5 separate regions of the Homo sapiens genome follow, and regions 1, 3, 4 and 5 are each linked to region 2. The links are contacts of gene promoters, found by promoter capture Hi-C in blood cells and fetal thymus (Javierre and others, 2016). All regions are on one chromosome and are shown on one strand. Each heading gives the region's core, a stretch centred on a gene start or on the middle of the fragment in contact. The rest is flanking DNA. Distances are from core to core; before and after follow the strand shown.

Region 1 (2,700 bases), core at 115-2,614, 370 kb before region 2:
GCGGCGCAAACCCAAAAATCTACGAAGGCGCCGCCAGTAAGAAGGGAAAGGGGAAGGCTCCGCAGGCTTCTAGGGCGGTTGCGAGCCATTCCCTGTCTCCCGGGAGAGAAACGGATTATTGCGAGTCCTAGGGTCTTGTTCCGATTGTAGTAGAATAAAACCAGCAGAGCTCTTCAGTCAGGGTGCAAATCCTGCCCGTCCCTTAAGTAGCTGTGAGATTGTTAAAGCTTCTATTAAATCAGTTTTCTCATGGTAAAATGTACATAATACCACCTTACTTTCAGAAATACTGAAAAGTGTTTTGTATAAATATACCAAAGTCTGTGGAATAGCTGGGTCAACTGTAAATTGCAAGTATTTGGTTATCATTATTAGTTGTTCAGATATCCGCTTTTGCTAAAAAAAAAAAAAAAAGTGTTGTTTTACCCCTGGGTAAGAGGCAGTCTCTGGGATTAAGTCAATCCCTGTCGAGTTCCTCTTCTGCCAGACTTGAAGGAGCTACGTATTCAAGAGAAGGGCTACGCACCTGATACTAGTCTCCACAGTTCTGCATTTTGTTAAGGTTACTTGGTGGGAAATACCAAAGGCATTTGGCTGGGAGTGGAATGACAAGGAGCAGGAGCCTCTGGCCAACTTACTGTTTTTCATGCAGTGTTTGAAAACATGTAATAATGAATAGTGTTTATTTTTAAATACAAATATGAACAAGATAAATACTACAGTAGTAATTTATTTGCTCGTTTTTACTTTTCTTTCTCAGGAAAACTCAATGTGAGTAGTGACACTGTCCAGCATGGTGTGGAAGGATTAACGTATCTCCTCACTGAGAGCTCAAAGCTCATGGTAAGGGATTTTCTGGACTGTTTTGTGTTGGCTGGATTCTTAAGAACGGTCTGGTGTACTCTACATCATAGTCCTGGCAGGTACCTGTGTGTTTTAATAATGTTGTTAATGGTTTATAATTGATTTTTTGAAGACATACCTAAAAAATAAAAATCATATCATCTGCTGATATGAATACCTCTTGCTAGTATAAATAGCTAGTATAGAAGTACCTCTAATTCTGCATGTTGTTAAACCATATATGTATCTTAAGAAGATACATAAGAGGAGGGAGACTGTATCAGTATTTTGTTTGCGTATCAGCAGTATCTGGCTTGATGAAGGACAGGAAGGGAAACTGGGCATCTTAACAATTTTTTCCATTTTATACTTTAGTAAAGTACTTTTATGTATTGGTAACACAGATTTTGGAATGGTGGTCAGTGGTTAAGGAATGCTGTTTCTTTTACTAGACAGAATAAATTAGAGGATATCATATTCTTTTGTGTATTTCAATTATTTTAGCTAGACAAAGATAAATTTTGATGTTCTTTTAAACTCAATTCACTTAGATTTCTGAACTGGATTTCCAAGACTCTGTTTTTGTTCTGGGATTCTCTGAAGAATTAAACAAATTGTTGCTTCAGCTTTATCTGGACAACAGAAAAGAGATCAGAACGATTCTGAGTGAATTGGCACCAAGCCTTCCCAGTTATCATAACCTTGAATGGCGACTAGATGTACAGGTATAGCATTTTTAAAATTAACTTAACATAGAATATAAGAATTATTTTAGGTTTGTGTCCTGTTTATTGTATTCTTTACCACCTTAACTAAGATGCGGTTTGAAACTTTGTTTTTTTAATGTTCATTTTTAAGCCATTTCACAAATCATTCATTTTCTTTTATTTTCAGTGTGTTCAAATCAGTTTAATTTGCAAAGTTTGTAAGAAATTGGTTATTTTCGAAAAGGAGATGGTTATATAGATTTTTTAGGTTGGTGCCTAGATGTTTAAAAACTTTTCTGTTTAAATTTAACAGATGTAGAAAAGTGCACAGGTCAATGTACCGCTCAATGAATTATCACATGGTGCATTTAACTGTGACTCACACCCCAGAAGCATCCTCCTTGCCTCCTAATTACTGCCCCTTCACTCCTTTCTAAAGGTAACCAGCATCCTGACTTTTAACACAAATTACATTTACCTGTCTTTTAACTTTGTATATATGGAATGACTCAGTAAATATTCTTTTGTACCTGGCTTCTCTCACAATATTCTTTTTGTGAGATTCATCTTTCAGTTGATTTTAAAGTCACAGAAACGAAAGGGTGTATTCAGACCATTGCTTATAATCCTTTATTAAGCAGAGAGAGATGAGTTAGTAGATGTGTATTGAATGCCATCTATTTGCTGATTAGAGCTGTGCTAAATGCTTTGAGACACAAAAGAAGTGTAAGATACTTTCTCAGCTGGAAAAGATCGTATCACCTTGGTTAGGGATATTAGGCATTCTCAAAATAACTAGTAATTAAAGGTAGTTATAAAATAAGGTTCTTGATGGGGAATAAAGAATATAATTATATGAATGAAGATGACAACTGTTTAAAACAAAAACAACAACAACAACAACAACACGTGTAGTTGTGTGTATGTGCTGGCGTGATCCAAGAAAGCTTCCAGCAAAAGGAAATGAAATTTCAGAAGGATGAATGAATAGAGAAAATTAGGGTAAATATTCTTAGTAGAGAAGGCAGAATATGTTGTAAAAGCCCACATGGATATGCAAATGAGCATATGAATATGTATTATAGTGCACTTGTTCTCAAATTTGACTTCATGTTGGAATAACCTGGGGAGCTTTACAGAAATTCTGATG
Region 2 (2,700 bases), core at 107-2,606:
TTCGTGAACCTCATTCACCTTCTTCTTCTAAGCTAATGCCTCCCTACCTTGGTCCTTTTCTATTTTCTGTACTCTCTATCTTGTCCTGGTGACAAGGCCCTCCAGGCCTGGCCCCACCCGGCCACCCTGTCCACCTCCCACCACCATCCACTGGCTGGTGCAATCTGCTGTTCAAGGCATAAATTTATTCAGTGCCCAGCCCCTCCTTCTGCAAGGTAACCACCTAGAAAGTTAGTCTAACACCCTTTCTCTGCCCTGTGTGGGGAGCCTGTGGAAGCTGGTCTCAGGATCTGGCTGGGTAAACCATCTGTTTACCTCTGTGTGGGTTCTGACACTCCTAGCCAGTTCTGTTTCTCTGAACCTTGTTTCTCCACTCTGCTTGCCAAGTCCCTTTGTCTTATTTTTTTCTCCCTCTCCCTCCTTCCTTCCCTCCCCCCATCCTTCCTTCCTTTTTTCCTTCCTTCCTTCCTCCCTCCCTCCCTTCCTCCCTTTTTCCCTCTCTCCTTCTCTCCCTCCTTCTCTTCTTTCCTTCCTCTCTTCCTTCCTCCTTTCCTCTTTCCTTCTCTCCCATTCTCTTCCTCCCCCTCTCTTCTTCCTCTTTTTATTTTTGTCCCATGCTTTAGGCCTTCCTTGGCCCTTCCTGGCATTGCTTTTCCTGACAGCAACACTCAATAATTTTTAAAAAGCACCTGAGCCCTTTGTGTTGACTGATGCCACCTCTGTTGTGGTGCAGATTTGTTTTAGAGGCAGATGTCCAGGGACGCTGAACACTGAAATCCATCCTGCAGAGCTTGCTGTAGGCAGAGTAAAGAAGTTTGCTCTGTAGTTTTCCCAACAGCCTTCTCAAATCCATGGGAGACGTCTCAGACACCTTGTATTTAATAGACAAGGAAATGAGCTCAGGAGATTTGCCCCAGGTTGTAAATTAAATCAGCACAAAGGTAGAAATGAACACAGAGCTCTCAGATTGGAAGCTGTCCAGACAGCTGCATGGAGCAGGGGCACAGCTCACTGTCTTTCAAAGCCTCAACCAGGGCTGTTGCATCTCGGACACTTGGCAGTTACTGGAAAGTCATGTTAGGCTTTCCTGTTGATTCTTTATCTTGTGGAGGAGTTGCACAGTCAATGCCTTGTTCAAGATTAATCATTTTCCCTGTTGCCTATGACTGAGGCTGTTTCTCACATCCTGCCCCTGGTTTTGCCTGTCCCAAGGATTTCGTCTGAAGGGCGGGACATTCCCCCTGCCTCTTCGCACCACAGCCAGAGCCTGCCATTAGGACCAATGAAAGCAAAGTACCTCATCCCCTCAGTGACTAAGAATCGCAGTATTTAAGAGGTAGCAGGAATGGGCTGAGAGTGGTGTTTGCTTTCTCCACCAGAAGGGCACACTTTCATCTAATTTGGGGTATCACTGAGCTGAAGACAAAGAGAAGGGGGAGAAAACCTAGCAGACCACCATGTGCTATGGGAAGTGTGCACGATGCATCGGACATTCTCTGGTGGGGCTCGCCCTCCTGTGCATCGCGGCTAATATTTTGCTTTACTTTCCCAATGGGGAAACAAAGTATGCCTCCGAAAACCACCTCAGCCGCTTCGTGTGGTTCTTTTCTGGCATCGTAGGAGGTGGCCTGCTGGTAAGTCATTCAGGATTATTACTGAATTCTCTCCTGTTTCCTAGATGTTTTCATTATGTATTTTCATGGAAAGTTTTTTGTAATGCATATTTCTAAATCAAGTGACTTTTTTGTTGCTGTTCATTCCTTTGAAAGCAGATTATACAAAAGCGAGATTGGTACAGTATAGCGTAGTAATTTTATGAGATGTTGTTTTACAAAATGCTCTTTCAACTAAAAGTGAACTGCCTTTTTGCTAAACTCTATAGGTAGGAAACAGATATTCGCTTTTAAATCAGATTTGAGAGACTATAGAGTTTCTACTAGAACGGGCAGTCATTTAACATTTGCTCTGGGGAGCCGGAAGGGGTTGGCTGGTTCTCTGCCTAAATCAACAGTTTTGAATCCAAATTCTCTGCTGTTTATTTTCAGCCATCTGTGATAGGGAAAAATAATGAATTGTGAGTGCATTGCTATTTTAAAAGAACTCTAAGCTTTCTCCTTTATGTAAGGCTGGGGTGTGGCGTCTAGGAAAAACCCTACAGTTAGCAGCAGGTCGGTGTCTGAAGCTAATAGTGGAATGTGTTATTTTTTCCAAGAATTGTTTTTGATTGAAGTGAGAGGAATTTCCCTGCCAACCTGGGAGCTGAAAGCATTAGCTTCAACCACAGCATGGAAAGAATGTGAGCAAACTTAAGTTTGCTACTTTAAAGTGCTGGGATTAAAAATTTTAAGGAGAAATTTTATGGAATGGTACCATACGTGATAAATTTTCTTAATCAAGTAAAAGATAGTAAAACATTTAAACCTAATACACTGATTATGGCATGGCAAATCTGCCCTAAATTATTTATTTAATGAGATTTTATTTAATTTTATTTTATTTAATGAGACGGGGTTTCGCCATGTTGCCCAGGCTGGTCTTGAACTCATGGGCCCAAGTGACCCTCCTACCTTGGCCTCCCAAAGTGCTGGGATTACAGGCATGAGCCACAGTGCCCGTCTGCCTCAAATTTAAGCATTATTATCATGTTAACATGATTATTTGTCTTAAACATAACATCACACTTAAGTTTCTTTCGATCTT
Region 3 (2,700 bases), core at 25-2,524, 410 kb before region 2:
CAGCAAAGTCTCAGGATACAAAATCAATGTGCAAAAATCACGAGTATTCCTATACACCTATAACAGACAGAGAGCCAAATCATGAGTGAATTCCCATTCACAATTGCTACAAAGAGAATAAAATACCTAGGAATCCAACTTACAAGGGATGTGAAGGACCTCTTCAAGGAGAACTACAAACCACTGCTCAACGAAATAAAAGAGGACACAAACAAATGGAAGAACATTCCATGCTCATGGATAGGAAGAATCAATATTGTGAAAATGGCCATACAGCCCAAGGTAATTTATAGATTCAATGCCATCCCAATCAAGCTACCAGTGACTTTCTTCACAGAATTGGAAAAAACTAGTTTAAAGTTCATATGGAACCAAAAAAGAGCCCGCATTGCCAAGATGATCCTAAGCCAAAAGAACAAAGCTGGAGGCATCATGCTACCTGACTTCAAACTATACTATAAGGCTAAAGTAACCAAAACAGCATGGTACTGGTACAAAAACAGATATATAGACCAATGGAACAAGACAGAGCCCTCAGAAATAATATCACACATTGACAACCATCTGATCTTTGACAAACCTGACAAAAACAAGAAATGGGGAAAGCATTCCCTATTTAATAAATGGTGCTGGGAAAACTGGCTAGCCAAAGTAGAAAGTTGAAACTTCCTTACACCTTATACAAAAATTAATTCAAGATGGATTAAAGACTTAAATGTTAGACCTAAAACCATAAAAACACTAGAAGAAAACCTAGGCAATACCATTCGGGACATAGGCATGGGCAAGGACTTCATGACTAAAACACCAAAAGCAATGGCAACAAAAGCCAAAATTGATAAATGGGATCTAATTAAACCAAAGAGTTTCTGCACAGCAAAAGAAACTACCATCAGAGTGAAGAGGCAACCTACAGAATTGGAGAAAATTTTTACAATCTACCCATCTGACAAATGGCTAATATCCAGAATCTACAAAGAACTTAAACAAATTTGCAAGAAAAAATCAAACAACCCCATCAAAAAGTGGGCAAAGGACATGAACAGATGCTTCTCAAAAGAAGACATTTATGCAGCCAAAAGACACATGAAAAAATGCTCATCAGGCTGGGAGCGGTGGCTCACGCCTGTAATCCCAGCACTTTGGGAGGTCGAGGTGGGTAGATCATGAGGTCAGGAGCTCGAGACCATCCTGGCTAACACAGTGAAACCCCGTTTCTACTAAAAGTACAAAAAATTAGCCGGGCGCGTTGGCGGGTGCCTGTAGTCCCAGCTACCGGGGAGGCTGAGGCAGGAGAATGGTGTGAACTCAGGAGGTGGAGCTTGCAGTGAGCCGAGATAGCACCACTGCACTCTGGCCTGGGCGAAAAAGCGAGACTCTGTCTCAAAAAATAAATAAATAAATAAATAAATAAAAGCTCATCATCACTGGCCATCAGAGAAATGCAAATCAAAACCACAATGAGATACCATCTCACACCAGTTAGAACGGTGATCATTAAAAAGTCAGGAAACAACAGGTGCTGGAGAGGATGTGGAGAAATAAGAACACTTTTACACTGTTGGTGGGACTGTAAACTAGTTCAATCATTGTGGAAGACAGTATGGAGATTCCTCAAGGATCTAGAACTGGAAATACCATTTGACCCAGCCATCTCTTTACTGGGTATATATACAAAGGATTATCAATCATGCTGCTATAAAGACACATGCACATGTATGTTTATTGCAGCACTATTCACAACAGTAAAGACTTGGAACCAACCCAAATGTCCATCAGTGATAGACTGGATTAAGAAAATGTGGCACATATACACCATGGAATACTATGCTGCCATAAAAAAGGATGAGTTCATGTCCTTTGTAGGGACATGGATGAAGCTGGAAACCATCATTCTCAGCAAACTATGGCAAGGATAGAAAACCAAACACCACATGTTCTCACTCATAGGTAGGAACTGAACAATGAGAACACTTGGACACAGGGTGGGGAACATCACACACTGCGGCCTGTCGTGGGGTTGGGGGAAGGGGGAAGGACAGCATTAGGAGATATACCTAATGTAAATGACGAGTTAATGGGTGCAGCACACCAACATGGCACATGTATACATATGTAACAAACCTGCACGTTGTGCACATGTACCCTAGAACTTAAAATGTAATAAATAATAATAATAATAATAAAGAACATTGTATTAACTTTTCCTTCTTTGGAAAAGAACTCTTACGGAAGCCATAATCAATATTTTCTATGGTATATACCTCCAATTTCTATTAATACAGGAGCCAGTCCTGACGATTTATTGCTGATGGTGTTGCGGTTCACTGTGTTCCTATAAACCATAGCATGAGGCACTGCAAAAGTGTATGTTTTTGTACAACATGCAGAGGCACTATCACTTTTGCCCCCTTCATTTTAACCTGTGTTATCATGGAAACGATTGCTTAAGTTTTGTCCACTGTTTTCACCCAGTGCTTAGAATAGTACTAGATAAGATATATAGTAGGCTGTACATAAATAGGTATTAAATAAATGAATTGATAAAGGTTTGAGAGGTAAAGTATGGAAATTAACAAGATGGTATATGATTGTCTGCAATTCATAGCAAGGTACTGAGATGCATTTCAGGGATCCATTCTCTCCCTTACTGTGGCATATCCCATTTTTCTCTACTCTTAGGGCAAAGCACTCCCCAGT
Region 4 (2,700 bases), core at 130-2,629, 420 kb after region 2:
GTGCCTTCACAGGTCTAACTTCTTTATGAGCATCAGCACAGCCTCTTGTGGACAGCGCCCCTCCCTGGGGGTTATCTCAGTGTTTTTCCTCTTGCATTAGGAGTCCTTTTCTTTCCCTGTGTGACTCATCTCCTCCTGGGTAGAGGAGGGGAGGACAGCCTTGGGATAAGGGGAAGTATCAAGAAGCTGCTGAGCCTATGAGAGGACAACCCAGAAACCACATTTCCTCTCTTAAGCTCCCCATCATATAACTAGTCAATGCTTTCTAGACACTCCAGATATAATTATTGGGATGATACACTACAAACTTTTCAAAATGTATTTGACATAGCCTGTAATAATCCAAATGAGAACAGAGACAACAAGAAGGCACACCTGTAGCTCATTTGTTTCCGCTGTTTCAATTGCTCTAATTCCCCTTTTCCAGTAGCCCATTAGGATCACCTGCCAAATTGACTTATTTAATGAAATTTCTGATGTACATTCATGTGTTTTCTAAAATAATCTCTTTAAGAAAGCACATTTTTCCTTCTCAAATGCAGTTCTGCCTTTTCTTGATAGGAACCCCATTCTAACATCACTACTGACTGTATTGAAATGAATGAATACATTATAAAGCACTTTATCTTTATTGCTGCCTGAAGTGGAGAATATAATTGCCAGCTGTGTATCCCAGGCACATAATTCCATTACTAGGTTCTTACGGAGCCATCAGTCCCATGGATGGTCCTTTGCTTGACAAACCAGCCCATCAAATTCCAAATCTGCCTTAATGGCAAATGCCACCTCTCGATCAGGTCACTGCTCCAGCCTGAATTCAGCAAATGTTACCAGAATACTTACCCTGGGGTACCCACGCTGCTCTTAGTTACGGGGTGCCTATCTTGCTCTTAGTTCTGCTCAAAAAAGCTTGTCATGCTTGAGGTCACAGCTTTTGGTCAAGGGTCCTTCCAGGATGAAGCTGATCTACGTTTTCTTGGACTGTCCACAAACATCCTTAACAGGTGCTAACTCTATTTTTAAATACTCTAGCAATATTTGTATGGGGAGCAGGGGCCAGCCACTATTCGGAAGTGGGCTGGTGAGGATTTTGATAGTGTTTTGGCTTTTTTGTGTTGGCTGGGTGGTGACACAGTTTCTTCAGATATCTTTAAATATATCATAGTCTACCAAATAAAGATTAGTTGAGGTGTGTGGGTTGGGGAGAAAGTGGTTAAGAAAACTTTTCTGCCAGCATACAAACTACCCTGGCTTCATACTTTGCTCTAAATTTCTGTGTAATCCCAGGGTTTTAGAGGTAAACCTGTACGGATCTCCTATCTTACACAAGAGGGATGAGCACTCACATTTACTGAGGCCACATGAGGGCTTGGCGCAGTTGGGAGCTTTTCATTTACTCTCTCAGTTGGCTGATGAGGAAACTGCTGGTACTTTTGTCCTAGCACACAAAGAATATAACCATCCTGAAGGAAAGAGAGTTTTGATTAAAGAGGGGAGGGTGAGAGAAGGAGTAACACTGGGGCAGGGCAGAGGATGGTATGCATGGATGGGTTTGCTGGAAGGAGAGGAGGACTCAGGAGACCCGGTGGTAGGAGGGTGATATGAAGAGGAGGGTGGCCCAGGATACACTGAGCACACTTTTGCACGTTAGTGGAAGACACTGGAAGTACAATGTCTGATACAATTTCTGGGCTGCCTTTGCCACAATATTCCAGGTTGCTGATATCTGCTTTCAAGGTAAGTTTGTCTGATTAGAATCTAGAGAAGTGTTTGAGAAAGCAAAGAGGGGTGAAAATGTTATTACTATTATTTTAGTGGTGGTAATCATTACCACCTGCTGAAAGCTTAATATGTGCTACAAACTGCTATGTGTATGATGTATCTTACATAAGTTAATTTTTACGAAAAACTTGGAGGTTGGTGTTCTTATGCTTATTTTAGAGGTGGATGAACTTTCTTGGCCAGATTCTCACAGCAAATGGGAGATCTGGGATTTGAATGCAGATTTGTCTAGCTCCCAAATTTATGTGATGGAATATCAAATAAATAACTTAATCTCTACTCATAAAACATGGATTCCATATCCCTTTTAGAACCATTTTTATGTGATTCAAGCCAATCCAGAGCATAACAACACTAGAAGATATAATAGCAGTAAGATAAACTGCCTCTTTAGCTATTTCCAAATTCATGGTCTCAATTAAGCCTTTTTCACATGTGCTGGCCCTTGTAATTCCTGATGTACTTTTCCTAATTCCAAATGTCTGGTAACAATTTATGATGTATAATTAAATGGGCTACCCTCCTTTTATCACGCCTTCTAGATATAGTCCCATCACATGAAACAAAGCGAAGCAAAACACTTCTTTGATTTAATGTTGACAGTCTCACATTCTCATTCTTATTAAGCTAATAACATTTAAAGATGATACTGAGGCTCTTTAATAATCCAGCAAGAAGAAAAATACAATTAGGCAATGATATGGTTTGGCTGTGCCCCCATTCAAATCTTGTCTTGAATTCCCAAGTGGGAAGGGAACCTGTGGAACTTGTGGGAGGGACCTGGTGAGAGGTAATTGAATCATGGGGGCAAGTCTTTCCTGTGCTGTTTTCGTGATACTGAATAAGTCTCACGAGATCTGATGGATTTAAAAAGAGGAGTTCCCCTGCATAAGCTCTCTTTGCCTGCTGCCATCCATG
Region 5 (2,700 bases), core at 45-2,544, 350 kb before region 2:
ACTGTGTCTGGTACATGGTAAGTTTCTATTAAATGTTGAAGGGTGAAAGGGAGCGAGAGAGAAAGGATTATAATATGGAATAGAGTACAAAATTTGCACACATTTTGCTTTTCTGTCACATCAGTATGGTTTGCATTAACCTCACAAGTTACATGTCAGCTTTTTTTTTTTCTTTAATGGAAAGACATATTTAGGACATGTTGTCTGCAGACCCCACTGAATGGACAGAACAAGATACTTAGACCAGTGGTTCTCAGCCGAGGCTGCTCACTGGAATTACTTGAGAATTTTTTAAAATTCTGATTCCTGAGTCCCAACTTTATAGATTCTGGTTTAACTGGCGTGGCATCTGTTAAAGCTCTCCACGTGATTCTGATGTACAGCAAAAATTAAGAACATGACAGTTTTACTACAGCCATTTCTCTATGACTTGCTTCAATGACTGATATTCAAGCCGGTCGAAGAACAAGAAAATCAAACAGTCCAGATTCAGCAGAACCCTGATCCACCCACGTGCTTTCAATTACAACTAAAAATAGCTGGAACAATTAAAAAAGAGTTTGTTGGTACAAATAACTGTCAAGTCCAGAGGTAGTATTGGTTCAGGCAAACATGATCCAGTGGCCTAGAGATGGCCCCAATGCCCCAGTATCTCTCTGCTTCGCTTTCCTGTCTTCGTTTTCTTTCTCCTAATTTAGACTCTTCTTGTGGCCATAGGTGGCTACTAAAGGCACCAGGAAAATGAGCCCGTCTTTGTCATTAACATCATAAGAAAAGTCTTTCAGATTCACTTTGATTGGACTGGTTTAGGTTACCAACCAATTGCTGCATTTAAGAGGTTGGAATATAGTAGGAGTAGAGTCCTCTTCCCAGGAAACACAGCAATCCCCAAATGAAAGTGGGATCTTTTAGAAAGGAAGAAGGGAGATAAATCAATGCTGAGACTATCAATGTCTGCTTTACCCATACAGTGGTTTTGGCTGGCTGCAGAATTTGGTCACAAAACTGTAGCACTACTTTATAGTACATAGTACAGTACTATAAAGTACATACTTTATAAGTAACCCAGATTTCTACATCAATTCCCACAGTTAATGACTACTAAAAAACTAAGCATGATTAGATTAATCATAACACTGTTTAGTGAGAAGAACTTGAGAACGGAAAATTGATTTGGATCCTGCAAACTTAAGTTGCCCCACGTATGGCTTTTGTTTAGTGCCTCAGTAAACAATGTTTTCTTGCTTCATTTTGAAAAATGAAAAATCTTAGATTCTCCAGAGAGAGTTTGATTTGTAGATTCCCACCCTGCCCCCTGCCCCCAGCTGAGTCACCAGCCAGGAACATTTTGTTAAGGTTTATTTTTTACAATTTTTGTTATGAACGCAAGAGTTTTAAATTTCCCCCCCAAATATTGTTGAATTATAACATTGGATATGCCTTTTCTAATTATATATGCTAAAAGAAAAATACCACACACACACACACACACACACACACACACACACTCCCCTAAAATCCCCTTCCAGGCTGGGTGCGGTGGCTCACACCTGTAATTCCAGCATTTTGGGAGGCTGAGGTGGGCAGATCACGAGGTCAGGGGTTCGAGACGAGCCTGACCAACATGGTGAAACCCCATCTCTACTAAAAACACAAAAATTAGCCAGGTGTGCTGGTGTGGCATGCGCCTGTAGTCCCAGCTACTCAGGAGGCTGAGGCAGGAGAATCTCTTTTTTTTTTTTTTTTTTTTTTTTTTTTGAGACGGAGTCTCGCTCTGTCGCCCAGGCGGGACTGCGGACTGCAGTGGCGCAATCTCGGCTCACTGCAAGCTCCGCTTCCCGGGTTCACGCCATTCTCCTGCCTCAGCCTCCCGAGTAGCTGGGACTACAGGCGCCCGCCACCGCGCCCGGCTAATTTTTTGTATTTTTAGTAGAGACGGGGTTTCACCTTGTTAGCCAGGATGGTCTCGATCTCCTGACCTCATGATCCACCCGCCTTGGCCTCCCAAAGTGCTGGGATTACAGGCGTGAGCCACCGCGCCCGGCCCAGGAGAATCTCTTAAACCTGGAAGGCAGAGGTTGCAGTGAGCCAAGATCGCGCCACTGCACTCCAGCCTGGGCGACAGAGCAAGACTCTGTTTCAAAAAAAAAAAAAGTCCCCTTCCTTCTGCCTATCCCCCAGAGAAGGGCAACCCTCCCTAGTTGAAAACTCACTGTTGTAGAACTGGCTGTCACCAACTACCCTTCTGGTTATAATTTGGCTTCTTAAGTTTCCCATAGACAGAAAATGTGCTAACCAGCAAACTTGGATTTGAGGCTTGCTACGTTATGTTTCCCATTGCAAGTTAATTAATTGGCATTCATCAGCCCTTAGAGTCCCATTGTGTCTGTGTGTGCTAACATTTAAGTTTCTGAGTTAATAAAGCTGAGTACCACATTCCAGAACAAAGCCCCTTCCATAAATCTCACTAGAACCAGAGGTGCTATCCCGTCCTGGTGACCAACCAGTTATTCTCCAAGCCACCCTCACCAGACTCCTTTTCCTCCAATTGTACTAGTAAAATCATTTTTAAAAAAGAAAAAAGAGGCATAAAATAGCATAGGCAGAATTTAATTTACCATCTAGAAATGCAAGATGGCACACATCTGTAGAAACATTGAAAGGAGAACAAGACCTTTAGGTTGCCGTAATCCCAGGGCT

The links. The method cuts DNA at HindIII sites, captures the fragments that hold promoters and counts their contacts. A CHiCAGO score of 5 or more calls a contact.
Region 1: a contact is called between a fragment that was not itself captured here and the fragment with the promoter of TM4SF1 in region 2, in 2 of 17 cell types (M1 macrophages and M0 macrophages). The highest score is 6.7, in M1 macrophages.
Region 3: a contact is called between a fragment that was not itself captured here and the fragment with the promoter of TM4SF1 in region 2, in 2 of 17 cell types (M2 macrophages and M1 macrophages). The highest score is 6.1, in M2 macrophages.
Region 4: a contact is called between a fragment that was not itself captured here and the fragment with the promoter of TM4SF1 in region 2, in 1 of 17 cell types (megakaryocytes). The highest score is 5.2, in megakaryocytes.
Region 5: a fragment that was not itself captured here is called in contact with the fragment with the promoter of TM4SF1 in region 2 in 3 of 17 cell types (M0 macrophages, M1 macrophages and M2 macrophages); the score reaches 9.5 in M0 macrophages.

What each region holds. Positions count from the first base shown.
Region 1 is chr3:149,749,546-149,752,245 of GRCh38, reverse strand. It overlaps COMMD2 (COMM domain containing 2), which reads left to right. Exons shown (of 5, transcript NM_016094.4): 2 at 1-36; 3 at 761-843; 4 at 1,395-1,568. Among named protein-coding and RNA genes, the nearest start is that of COMMD2, 1.6 kb to the left of the region's middle. The HindIII fragment of the contact is 2,270 bases long and covers 230-2,499 here.
Region 2 is chr3:149,376,305-149,379,004 of GRCh38, reverse strand. It overlaps TM4SF1 (transmembrane 4 L six family member 1), which reads left to right and starts at 1,356. Exons shown (of 5, transcript NM_014220.3): 1 at 1,356-1,634. The coding sequence starts at 1,458. TM4SF1-AS1 (TM4SF1 antisense RNA 1) reads right to left here and starts at 1,227. Exons shown (of 2, transcript NR_109810.1): 1 at 690-1,227. The HindIII fragment of the contact is 5,350 bases long and covers 1-2,109 here.
Region 3 is chr3:149,784,739-149,787,438 of GRCh38, reverse strand. The region is part of intron 2 of ANKUB1 (ankyrin repeat and ubiquitin domain containing 1); the gene reads left to right. Among named protein-coding and RNA genes, the nearest start is that of ANKUB1, 6.5 kb to the left of the region's middle. The HindIII fragment of the contact is 4,947 bases long and covers 1-2,700 here.
Region 4 is chr3:148,960,113-148,962,812 of GRCh38, reverse strand. No RefSeq gene overlaps it. Among named protein-coding and RNA genes, the nearest start is that of GYG1, 30 kb to the left of the region's middle. The HindIII fragment of the contact is 935 bases long and covers 912-1,846 here.
Region 5 is chr3:149,727,974-149,730,673 of GRCh38, reverse strand. No RefSeq gene overlaps it. Among named protein-coding and RNA genes, the nearest start is that of COMMD2, 23 kb to the left of the region's middle. The HindIII fragment of the contact is 3,060 bases long and covers 1-2,700 here.